Linked DNA regions of Homo sapiens: region 2 is linked to region 1. Evidence: promoter capture Hi-C in human tissues and cell types (Jung and others, 2019). All regions are on one chromosome and are shown on one strand. The core of a region is centred on a gene start or on the middle of the fragment in contact, and the rest is flanking DNA. Distances in the headings are between cores, read along the strand shown.

Region 1 (6,667 bases), core at 3,969-6,468:
GTTTTTACTTTTACTTTTTTTTTGAGACAGCGTTTCACTTTGTCTCCCAGGCTAGAGTGCAAGTGGTGTGATCTTGGCTCACTGCAACCTCTGCCTCCCAGGTTCAAGCAATTCTCCTGCCTCAGCCTCCCAAGTAGCTGGGATCACAGGCCTGTGCCACCACACCTGGCTGATTTTTTTGTATTTTTAGTAGAGATGGGGTTTCACCATGTTGGCCATGCTGGTCTTGAACTCCTGACCTCAGGTGATCCACCTGCCTTGGCCTCCCAAAGTGCTGGGATTACAGGCATGAACCATAGCGCCCGGCTGATTTTTACACTTATTTATTTATTTATTTTAGAGACAGGGTGTTGCTCTGTCGCGCAGGCTGGAGTGCAGTGGTATGATCATGGTTCACTGCACCCCTGAATTCCTGGGCGCTAGGGGTCCTCCCACCTCTGCCTCCCAAGTAGCTAGGACTACAGGCATGCACCACCACATCTAGCTTTTAAAACAAAATTTTTTTTAGAGATAGGGTTTTACTATGTTGCCCAGGTTGGTCTTGAACTCTTGGCCTCAAGCCATCTTCCCACCTTGGCCTCCCACAGTGCTGGGATTACAGGCATGAGCCACTGTGCCTGGCCAGATAGATGTTTTTAAAAGATTACTTTCTTTTTTTTGTTTTGTTTTTTTGAGACAGAATTTCGATTTTGTCACCCAGTCTGGAGTGCAATGGCACAATCTCAGCTCATTGCAACCTCCACCTCCAGGGTTCAAGTGATTCTCCTGCCTCAGCCTCCTGAGTAGCTGGGATTACAGGCGTGCACTACTTTTTGTATTTTTAATAGAGACGAGGTTAATTTTTGTATTTTTAGTAGAGACGGGGTTTCACCACATCAGCCAGGCTGGTCTTGAACTCCTGACCTCAGGTGATCCATCCACCTGAGCCTCCCAGAATGCTGGGATTATAGGCGTGAGCCACCGTGCCCAGTCAAAAAGATTGCTTTCTGAAGAATGAATACATAGGGGTAAGAGCAGACTCTGAATCTCCCCATTCAGAGAGGCCAGATTGGAGGCTACTATAGGAGGTCAGGCCAGAGAATACGATGGCTTGGTCATGATAGCCCCTATGGAAGTAGAAAATAAATGGATAAATCTGAGAAATACGCAGGAAGTTGGCAGAATTTCGTATTCAAATGGATTCAATGTATTCAAATGGATACACTGAGACTGAAGGAAGTGCTATTTACAGAGCTAGGTAATATTTTTGGAGGGGAGAATAATGAGTTCAGTGTGAACAAGTAGAAATTCAGGTACCTGGAGAGCCACCAAAGTGGCTCTGTCCATTACAGAGTCGGATATAGAGGTTTAGAACTCAGAAGAGAGGTCTGGACTGGAGATACAAATCTAGGAACTATATAGACAATAATGGAAGCCATAAGCTATAATGACACTAGAGGGTGGCACTGGAACTCACTGATGTCCTTGGTAAGAGAGGTCTCTATTGCGTAGTGGGAGGAGAAGCCATATAAGTTTGTTTTTTTAATTGAGATGGGGCTGGTCTCGAACGCCTGGCCTCAAATGCTCTTTCCACCTCGGCCTCCCGAAGTTCTGGGATTACAGTGTGAACCACCGCACTGGGCCAGTCATGTGAGATTGAGCAGTGGAATGAATAGAAGCTGAGGCTATGTAGACAGAAACAGACACAGTTAGGAAGACTGAGTGCAGTGGCTCATGTCTGTAATCCCAGCACTTTGGGAGACCAAGGTGTGAGAGTCACTTGAGTCCAGGGATTTGAGACCAACCTCAGCAACAGAGTGAGACCTGGCTAATGTTAAAAAATATTGTTTTTTGTTTGTTTGTTTTTGTTTTTTTGAGACAGAGTCTTGCACTGTCACCCAGGCTGGTGCAATCTCGGCTCACTGCAACTTCCACCTCCCGGGTTCAAGGGATTCTCCTGCGTCAGCCTCCCAAGTAGCTGGGATTACAGGTGCCCACCACCATGCCCGGCTAATTTTTTGTATTTTTAGTAGAGACAGGGTTTCATTATGTTGGTCAGGCTGGTCTCGAACTCCTGACCTTGTGATCCCCCTGCCTTGGCCTCCCAAAGTGCTGGGATTACAGGTGTGAGCCACCGCGCCCGGCCTAAAAAAATATTGTTTTTAATTATCCAGGTGTGGTGGCATGCAACTGTAGTCCCAGCTATTCGGGAGGCTAAGGCAGGAGGATAGCTTGAGCTCAGGAGTTTGAGGCTGCAGTGAGCCATAATCATACCACTGCACTCCAGCCTGAGTGACAGAATGAGACCCCTTCTCAAATAAATTAATTGAAATAAAAACAAAGTTAGGACATTTCGGGCAGAGGAGCAGCATGAGCAAACACAAGGAGACACAAAAAAGTGGGGTGTGTTTGGGGGACTTAAGCTAATCAGAGTGGCTGGAGACTTGAGTATGTAAGAGGAAGGAAAAATGAAGACAGCGGTGAAAATGGAGACGCTGAAGTGAACAGCCTTGAATGCAAAGGACAAGAGAAAAGAAAACTGCTATTTCTGGAGTGCCTCCTATGTCGTAGGAGTTTTTGCATACATTATCTCACTTAATCCTGATGTGTAAGGTAAGCCCTCTTTTTTTTTCAGAGACAGGTTCTCACTCTGTTACCCTAGGCTAGAGTGCAGTGGTACAATCATCGCTCACTGCAGCCCTGAACTTACGGGCTTAAGCGATCCTCCTACCTCAGCCTCCTGAATAGCTGGGATTACAGCTTGAGCCACCACACCTGGTCAATGTAAGCATTCTTATCCTCATTTATTCCACTGAAAAAATAGCTGTTCAGAGAAGTTAAATAATTTCCCCAGGATCACATATCTTTTTTTGTGTGTGTGAGATGGAGTCTTGCTTTGTCGCCAGGCTGGAGTGCAGTGGCGCCATCTAGCCTCACTGCAATCTCTGCCTCCTGGGTTCAAATTATTTTCCTGTCTCAGCCTCTCAAGTAGCTGGGACTACAGGCGTGCACCACCATGCCCAGCTAATTTTTGTATTTTTAGTAGAGATGAGGTTTCATGATGTTGGCCAAGATGGTCTCGATCTCTTGACCTCATGATCCACCCGCCTCGGCCTCCCAAAGTGCTGGGATTATAGGCGTGAGCCACCGCGCCTGGCCTAGGATCACACATCTTGTAAGCAACGCGATTCCAATCTCCCTCTCACACAAGAGGATCTGGGTAAGTCCCCTGCCAGGTGGTGACATCAAGTGGGGAGAACAGGGTGAGAATCCCTTTTATCCAGCGCTGTAGTGTCAGATACATTAGCCTAAGCAGAGAAAGGGTATTCAAAACCCAAAGCCGAATGCAACCAGAAAATAGTTGAAGAACTAAAGGCTCCATCCAGAAATCATGTTGTGAGAGCCAAGAGGGGTTAGTCTACGGAGCCAAAACCCCACCCCGTAATTGGTCCAAAAGCCATGTTAATCATAAGCAGTGGAGCTTAATCAAGGAGAGGGTGGAGGGAGGCCAGGGAGCTTCAGAAGCGGGCAAGCTCTCAGCTAAGTCTCAAGCCTCTAGTCCAGCTCACGCTAAAGTTCTGGGATGGGGAAGAGTTAAGGAGGTAAATTTTGTTGAGTTGGAAAACTAAACAATTGGGTCCTCTAGAGGATAACATGCTTGGAAATGTTTTGTGGAAAGACTCTTCTGGTGCCTCTGTGAAGAAGGGTCTCCAGGTTTCAGATAACAGCACCTCTCAATCTGGTTCTCATATGGAGAGTAAAGACAGACAGCTTGGGCTCAGTCCACAGACTCAACTGCCCTCTGCAGAGTGGACCATGGATAGGACTCTGGCTTGGTCCTTGGCCTTGTGGAATTACACTTTATTTGTATCCTACAGGAAAAAAAAAAAAGATTAAGACTCCCATAGAGGAACACCAAGCACAGACATGGTCTATCCAGGATACTCAAGGAAGCAGGAGCTGTCAGGCAATCCAAGCCAGGGCAGGACTTCTCATGGTACAGTACTTCATGATTCATTATTTCATTTGAGCCTCCCAACCATTCCATGAAGTAGTTGTTAATTATTTCTTTCCCGCCTCGAATTTTTAAAAAAATAAATGAGGAAACTAAGGCTGGAGCAAGGGGAGTGACTGCTCAAAGCCACTCCATTGGATGGCCATCAGAACTGGAACTTCAATCCAGGTTTTGTCTTAGGTAAATTCTGTGCCTCTTTCACTATAGAAAAAAAAAAATTGCTAAGGGAAGGCTTCGTGGAGGAGGAGGTGCTTGAACTGCCCAAGTGGCAGGGCACTAAGTGCCGAAGGGTGACCAGGCCTCTGGGCAAAAGCACAAAGATGCTGCACAGCAAAGCCAGTTAAAGAAACAAAACACGGTTCCGGGAATGTGCACTGCTTGAGGACAGGAAGGACCCAGATCCTAGAATGGGGCCTGGGGCTCAGCAGGCGCTGGATAACTGAAGAAATGGCTGTCTGGAACACAGATTTTTCTATAGAGGAGTAGTGGCGGTGAGGCTGCGAAGGCGGAAGATGGAGAGGCTTTCACACAAGGAAGGCGGTGGAGGAGGAGCGAGGGGGCTCCCGGGTGCTTGTGCGGACATAAGGTGCGAGAGAATCAGCTGGAAGGTGGGCTCCAGCAGAGAGAAGAGGAAGGCCAGAAGTAGACCGGGACAGGGGGAGGAAAGGACAGAGTCAAGGAACATTTAGGAGTTCGGTTCCCGGAGGCCTGGCGACACCCTGACGGGGAGGGGTGACGCGCACCCATTTGCAGGCAGAAAGGCAGGAGCAGGGGGGTGTCCGAGGATGGTGGCTCGGAGGGACCAGGCATAGGTGGTGCAAGCTCAGCAGTCACTCAAGGGGTGGCATGCGGATGAGGGAGGCGCCTCCCGGACTGGGGGACCGGGAAAGGCATTAGCAACCTGCCAGAACCCGGTTAACAAAGGCAGGACTACAATTCCCGGCATGCTCGGGCTCGGTGGGGTGACGGCGGGCGGTGGCTGCGCTGCACCCGACTGGTGGGCGCAGGACCTGGGTCGGCACCGGAGCCTGTCATCCCGGAGCGGTCGGCGGGGGTGCAGAGACGGCGATGCGCCCCTGTCCCCCGCACCCGGGCCGCTCCGGGCTCGCGCCTCCCGCCCCGCGGCCCCGCCCCCTGCCCCACCCCAGTCGGGAGGCTTAGCTGGGGCCGCAGCGCGGCGGCAACATCACTCTCGCTGCCGCTGCTCCGCCCCATCCCCTTCTGTTTTTCTCTCTCATTCTCCAGTGGCGGCGGCGGGGAAGGCGGAGGCAGAGGCAGCAGCAGCCGCGCTGGCTGCAATGAATGATCCCCCAGCTTGGGGGGAGGACTCCAGGTGAGCCTCTGCCCTCGGGAGGCCCGGGACCCCCGGCCGCCCACGACCGGCAGCCCACGCTATGGATCCCTAGAGGAAGGAGGAGAAGACAGCTCGCCGCCCACCCCCATCCCATTTTCCTCTTCCTTTATCTCATTGTTGCCGAAGCTGTTTACGGCAGCGCTCCCTCTGCTCCTGCATGGGGCGGGCTCCGGGCACGGCTGCTCGGCAGGCGCTGCTCCCGCGGCGACTGGGGGATTCTGCCTAATTCACCTCCCAGCCGGTGCAGAGAGGACCGGAGAGCGGTGGAGGCCCGGACTGCAGCAGCGTTGGGGCCACCTCCCAGCGTCCCCACCCTAGGAGGCTGCATGCGGATTGAAGAGCTGCGCCTGGGGGCTGGGCCGGCCCCGCTGATCCCGACCTAGCGAGCAGGATAGCAGGACCGCCCAGGCTGCGGAGGGGCTCGGGGGCAGGAAGGTCAGAGCAGCAAGATGGCCAGTAAGACCAAGGCCAGCGAGGCCCTCAAGGTGGTGGCCCGGTGCCGCCCCCTCAGCAGGAAGGAGGAGGCTGCTGGTCACGAGCAGATCCTGACCATGGACGTGAAACTGGGCCAGGTGACCCTGCGGAACCCCCGCGCCGCCCCGGGGGAGCTGCCCAAGACCTTCACCTTTGACGCCGTGTATGATGCCAGCTCCAAGCAGGCCGACCTGTATGACGAAACCGTGAGGCCCCTGATAGACTCCGTGCTCCAGGGTTTCAATGGCACGGTGTTTGCCTATGGCCAGACGGGCACTGGCAAGACCTATACCATGCAGGGGACCTGGGTGGAGCCCGAGCTGCGCGGGGTCATCCCGAATGCCTTTGAGCACATCTTCACCCACATCTCCCGCTCCCAGAACCAACAGTACCTGGTCCGGGCCTCCTATTTGGAGATCTACCAGGAAGAGATTCGAGACCTGCTCTCCAAGGAGCCGGGCAAGAGGCTAGAGCTGAAAGAGAACCCCGAGACTGGCGTCTACATCAAGGACCTCTCCTCCTTCGTCACCAAGAATGTCAAGGAGATTGAGCATGTGATGAACCTGGGGAACCAGACCCGGGCTGTGGGCAGCACCCACATGAATGAGGTCAGCTCCCGCTCCCATGCCATCTTCATCATCACTGTGGAGTGCAGCGAACGTGGCTCTGATGGCCAGGACCACATCCGAGTGGGCAAGCTCAACCTCGTGGACCTGGCTGGCAGCGAGAGGCAGAACAAGGCAGGCCCCAACACAGCGGGAGGGGCAGCCACACCATCCTCGGGTGGCGGTGGTGGCGGTGGAGGCAGTGGTGGTGGTGCTGGTGGAGAGAGGCCTAAGGAAGCC
Region 2 (5,836 bases), core at 2,054-4,553, 39 kb before region 1:
GAAATTAAAATTAAACAATAAGATAATATTTTCCATCCATCAGCATGGCAAAAATTAGAAAGATGGATAATACCAAGTGTTGGTAAAGATGTGAAGAGATGAGAACTCTCATGCATAGCTGACAGGAATTCAATCTGGTCTACCCATTCTGGGAAGCAACAAGGCAATATTTAATAAATAATGTACATACCTGTGACTCAACAGCACTATTCCTGGGGGCGTCCAAGAGAAATTCCCACACAGGTTCATCATTGCTTTGTCGTAGCTAGATGTTGGATTGGAACCAATCTAAGCATCTATTACTAGGAGAATAAGTAAATAAAATACAATGGATGCTCACTGAGTTAGAGCAGATCAGAAAGGGTTGGCTTGGGTTTGAAAATTGGCTATTATGACAACTCAGACCCAAGTTAAGGTTGTTAGCACTTCTGTTTATTAATAAACTGGGGCCAGGTGCGGTGGCTTAAGCCTGTAATCCCAGCACTTTGGGAGGCCATGGCGGGTGGATCAATTGAGGTCAGGAGTTTGAGACTAGCCTGGAAAACATGGTAAAACCCCGTATCTACTAAAAATAAAAAAAAAAAATTAGCCAGGCGTGGTGGTGTAGGCCTGTAATCCCAGCTACTCGGGAGACTGAGGCAGGAGAATCGCTTGAACCCAGGAGGCAGAGGTTGCAGTGAGCTGAGATCATGCCACTGCACTCCAGCCTGGGTGACAGAGCAAGACTCCCGCTCAAAAAAAATATAAAAATAAAAATAACAAATTGGCAAACAAGCTAAGCAAAGAACAATGATACAGGCATGCAATGTGAAATAAGCACATAAGCAAAGAACAATGCTTTTCTAGTTCCTCACAGAAACATGCCTAAGTTCTGGTGATCACCGCAGGCCTTACCCATGGCCTATCCCACATTCATAGGGAGAAAACTGGTCTAATGAGGTCAGAGTTGGGACTAGCTTTTTTTTTTTTTTTTTTTGAGACGAATTCTCGGTCTTATTCTCCAGGCTGGAGTGCAGTGGCATGACCTCGGCTCACTGCAACCTCCGCCTCCCAGGTTCAAGTGATTCTCCTGCCTCAGCCTCCCGAGGAGCTGGGATTACAGGTGCATGCCACCACACCTGGCTAATTTTTGTATTTTTAGTAGAGATGGGGTTTCACCATGTTGGCCAGGCTGGTCTCAAACTCCTGACCTCAGGCGATCCACCCACCTTGGCCTCCCGAAGTGCTGGGATTACAGGCGTGAGCCACCGCACCCAGCCTGGGACTAGCTTTTTTTTGTAGGATTAACCACAGGAGGAGGCCAGGTCAGCATTCAAGGGCCTACCGTATACCATATAAGAAAGTTTCTTGTATTATTGGGCCGATAGCAGGCTTGCCCGTGGCCTATCCCACATGCACTATTAAGCCCCTAACTAGCTACACCTTCAGCAACATAGTGAACTGAAACAAAGGAAACAGAAAATGAATTATAGGCTGGGCGTGGTGGTCACACCTGTAATCCCAGCACTTTGGGAGGCCTAGGCAGGCAGATCACGAGGTCAGGAGTTTGAGACTGGCCTGTCCAACATGGTGAAACCCTGTCTCTACTAAAAATACAAAAATTAGCCAGATGTGGTGGCAGGCGCCTGTAATCGCAGCTACTCGGGAGACTGAGACAGAATTGCTTGCACCTGGGAGGTGGAGGTTGCAGTAAGCCGAGATCATACCACTGCACTCCAGCGTGAGTGACAGAGCAAGACTCTATCTCATTAAAAAAAAAAAAAGATTTATAATACAATGCCATTCAGGTAAATTACAAACAACAACTTTCTTTTATGAGGTTTCACACATGTTTAATAACATACATCAAACATATTACACATGAAACCTATGGAAGAAGAAGGCAATGAGAGGGAAGAAGGGGGAAAAATAGGCTGGGTACAGTGGCTCACGCCTGTAATCCCAGCACTTTGGGAGGCCGAGGCGGGCTGATTACCTGATGTCAGGAGTTCAAGACCAGCCTGGCCAACATGATGAAACCCCGTCTCTACAAAAATACAAAAATTAGCTGGGCATGATGGCAGGTGCCTGTAATCCTAGCTACTCGGGAGGCTGAGGCAGGAGAATTGCTTGAATCTGGGAGGTGAAGGTTGCATTGAGCCGAGATCGTGCCATTGCATTCCAGCCTGGGCGACAGAGCGAGACTCTGTCTCAAAAAAAAAAAAGAAGGGGGAAAAATATAAAATGAGTAGGACCTTGCACAGACCACATAGTCAGTGGTCAATGTGCTAGAAAGTGAGGAATGTGATTAACTCAGTGCTCAGCATCCCAGATCTAAATTTTTAAACAAATTGAGAAGATCAAATTGCACATGGAGGTAGATGACATTGATATTGATACTCTTTATAGTTATCATTTGCAGAAAAATATCAAAATGAGAAGAAAAACCCTAAATATTTGGTTTGGATCAATACAAAAAATATAGATTCTGGCTGTTTCTTTTATGCCTAACTGCCACATAGCATAACAATAGTCATGCAAATTTAAAAATGTGACAGATTTATTTCATCATATGAACTTGGCCATGGACTTTATGGAATTGTCAGTTTCTGAAGCTTGGTGCTCAACTCTCAGCTGTCAGCTCTTTCCCCTCCCTGTCTGGTGCTAGCTGTTTGGAAAAATCCAGTTATTTGCAAGCTACCTCACCTTTTTCCTGGAGCCAGAGAAAGAGTAGAAGTATAGGTTATCAAAAGCCCTTACACACCTGCTAATTGAGTCAGTCACTGTCAAGACAATATCTAAAAGCAGCCATCTCTGTTGGCCAAAATACCTCCAAGAAAAATAACTTAGGGGCCGGGCGCAGTGGCTCACACCTGTAATCCCAGCACTTTGGGAGGCCAAGGTGGGCGGATCACGAGGTCAGAAGATCGAGACCATCCTGGCCAACATGGTGAAACCCTGTCTCTACTAAAAATACAAAAAATTAGCCGGGCATGGTGGTGTGCGCCTGTAGTCTCAGCTACTGCAGAGGCTGAGGCAGGAGAATCGCTTGAATCTGGGAGGTGGAGGTTGCAGTGAGCTGAGATCGCGCCACTGCACTCCAGCCTGGGTGACAGAGCAAGATTCTGTCTCAAAAAATAATAATAATAACTTAAAGGAGTATAATTTTACTGTTTGTAACTCAAAGGATAAATGCTTGGGGGGATGGATACCCCATTTTCCATGATGTGCTTCTTTCACATTTCATGTCTGTATCAAAACACCTCATGTACCCAATAAATATATACACCTACTATGTACCCACAAACATTGAAAATAAAAATAAAAGAAAAAATACTCCCAAGAGGAAGCCAGACTTTTGCCCATGTAGCTTATGCATTCAGGGTTCCACTACCTTTTGCCCTCCCTCAGGGCACTGGTGTCCACAGGGCAAACCTGCCCTGTGTCCTTGAAGGCCAAATAGGGATGCTATTTCTTTCTTTCTTTTTTTTTTTTTTCTTTTTTTGAGATGGAGTCTTACCCAGTCGCCCAGGCTGGAGGGCAGTGGCACAATCTCAGCTCACTGCAACCTCCACCTCCCGGGTTCGAGTCATTCTTCTGCCTCAGCCTCCTGAGTAGCTGGGATTACAGGTGTACAGCTACACAAAGAAGCAGGCACAGTGAGGGCGACTGAGAGCAGTAGCACTTGGTTTCTGGGCCACCTCTGGACCCCAGAGCTGGATGGGATCCCAAGTCCAGTGCTGGCCACCATGGTGCTATAGGCTACAGAATCTCTTTGGGGTCCGGCAGGGGCAGTGATGGACTCACTGCTTGGCCTAACAGACTGAATCTGTGGCCTGTTGCTTTCCCCAGATCCCTGAGCCTGTTTCTCTAGCCTTCCCAGTAATTCTGAGAGCTTCCCAATAGCCTTTCAGTAAATGTATGTTCTGCTTCTAAATGCCAAATATCAGTTTCTGTTGCAACCAAAACCCGTGACTGATACACTTGTTTCTGGTAAAATTCCCAGGATGACTCCAGCTCTACCTGACATTTGTGCACGTCCACTTCCTCTTTCCCACCTTCTGCTGACCTTGCCACTTGAATGTGCTGCACCTCTGCTGAAACTTGGCTCCTGCCTGCCCTCCAAGGCTGCTGCAGCCTCGGTTCCTCTTTCCTGGGTCTCCACTGCCTCTTTCTAGCCCCCTCTACCCCAGGTTCAGGTGACCTGTGCTCCCAGCCCATCCTGAGGCCTAGACAGGTTGGGCAGTCATCCTAACCCTGTCATGATGTCAGCAGTGGGCCTCGTGCTGGCAGGGCAGAGTCCTCAGATGCTGGAAGGGAGGGTCACCAGGAGGAAAGAGGGACACAGGCAAAGAGATAGGAAAGTTGCAGAGGCTCCCTTTTTTGTTTGTTTGCTTGTTTGTTTGTTTGCTTGTTTTGAGACTCAGTCTTGCTCTGTCCAGGCTGGAGTGCAGTGGCACCATCTTGGCCCACTGCAACCTCTGCCTCCTGGGTTCAAGCTGATTCTCCTGCCTCAGCCTCCCGTGTAGCTGGGATTACAGGTGTGTGCCATCACACCCAGCTAATTTCTTTTTAGGCGGGTCTCACTCTGTCACCCAGGCTGGAATACAATAGCTCAATCATAACTAACTGTGGCCTCAAACTCCTGTGCTCAAGTGATCATCCTGCCTCAGCCTCCCAAGTAGCTGAGATTACAGGTGTGAGTCACTACACCCAGCTAATTTTTTTTTTTTTTAAGTGGAGATGGGGTCTCACTATGTTTCCCAGGCTGGTCTTGAACTCCTGGCCTCAAGCAGTCCTCCTGCCTCAGCCTCCCAAAGTTCTGGAATTAGAGGCGTGAGCCACCATGCCTGGGGTATTTTTATATTTTATCTAACAACATGAGTTTTCATTTATGGAGTTCCTGCATTGTTCTGGCCCTTTAGAGGCATGACTTCACAATAATACATTGATGTAGGAACTATGATCATCCCCATTTTCAGATGAAGAAACAAGTGTTTAAATAGGTTAAAAGAGGCCGGGCATGGTGTCTCACACCTGTAATCCCAGCACTTTGGAAGACCAAATCTGGCACATTGCTTGAGGCCCAGGGTTCAAGACCAGACTGGGCAACATGGTGAAACCCCGTCTCTACAAAAAATACAAAAATTAGCAGGGCAAGGTGGTATGCACCTGTAGTCCCAGCTGGTAGGGAGGCTGAGGTGGGAGGATTGCTTGAGCCTGGGAGGCGGAGGTTGCAGTGAACCGAGATTGCACCACCACACTCCAGCCTGGGCAGCAGAGCAAGACTCTATCTCAAAAAAAAAAAAAAGAAAAGAAAAGAAAAAGATGTGAAAAGACATGGAAGGTGGGGTGCAGTGGCTCATGCCTGTAATCCCAGCACTTTGGGAAGCTGAGGCGAGTGGATCACCTGACATCAGGAGTTCGAGACCAGCCTGGCCAATATGGTGAAACGCCATCTCTACTAAAAATACAAAAATTAGCCAGGCATGGTGGCGGGCACCTGTAATCTCAGCTACTCAGGAGGCTGAGGCAGGAGAATCATTGAACCCAAGAGGAGGAGGCTGCAGTGAGCTGAGATTGCACCACTGCACTCCAGCCTGGGCAACAGAGCAAGACTCCGTCTCAAAAAAAAAAGAAAAAAAGAGATGGAATGTGATGATGCCTGGTATTTCCTTCAAAATAAGTGGGAGCAAAGGGGATAAGTAGAGTATAGATGAAATAAAGTTACAGTGGGTTAATGATTATTCAAGCTGGATAATGAGTATATGGAGGTTCATCATACTAATGTGTGTCATTCATATATATTTGAAGCTTTCCATAATTAAAAGTTGTTTTTAGTCTGATCTAAGTCATA

Evidence for each region. The method cuts DNA at HindIII sites, captures the fragments that hold promoters and counts their contacts. A contact is called where the count stands out against the background at its distance.
Region 2: a contact is called between a fragment that was not itself captured here and the fragment with the promoter of KIF3C in region 1, in 1 of the 25 tissues and cell types used here (neural progenitor cells).

Annotation. Positions count from the first base shown.
Region 1 is chr2:25,981,048-25,987,714 of GRCh38, reverse strand. KIF3C (kinesin family member 3C) reads left to right here and starts at 5,218. Exons shown (of 8, transcript NM_002254.8): 1 at 5,218-6,667. The coding sequence starts at 5,798. RefSeq lists silencers at 4,970-5,139, 5,280-5,439 and enhancers at 5,429-5,938, 5,939-6,447. The HindIII fragment of the contact is 11,133 bases long and covers 1-6,667 here.
Region 2 is chr2:26,018,706-26,024,541 of GRCh38, reverse strand. No RefSeq gene overlaps it. Among named protein-coding and RNA genes, the nearest start is that of RAB10, 12 kb to the left of the region's middle. The HindIII fragment of the contact is 6,969 bases long and covers 1-5,836 here.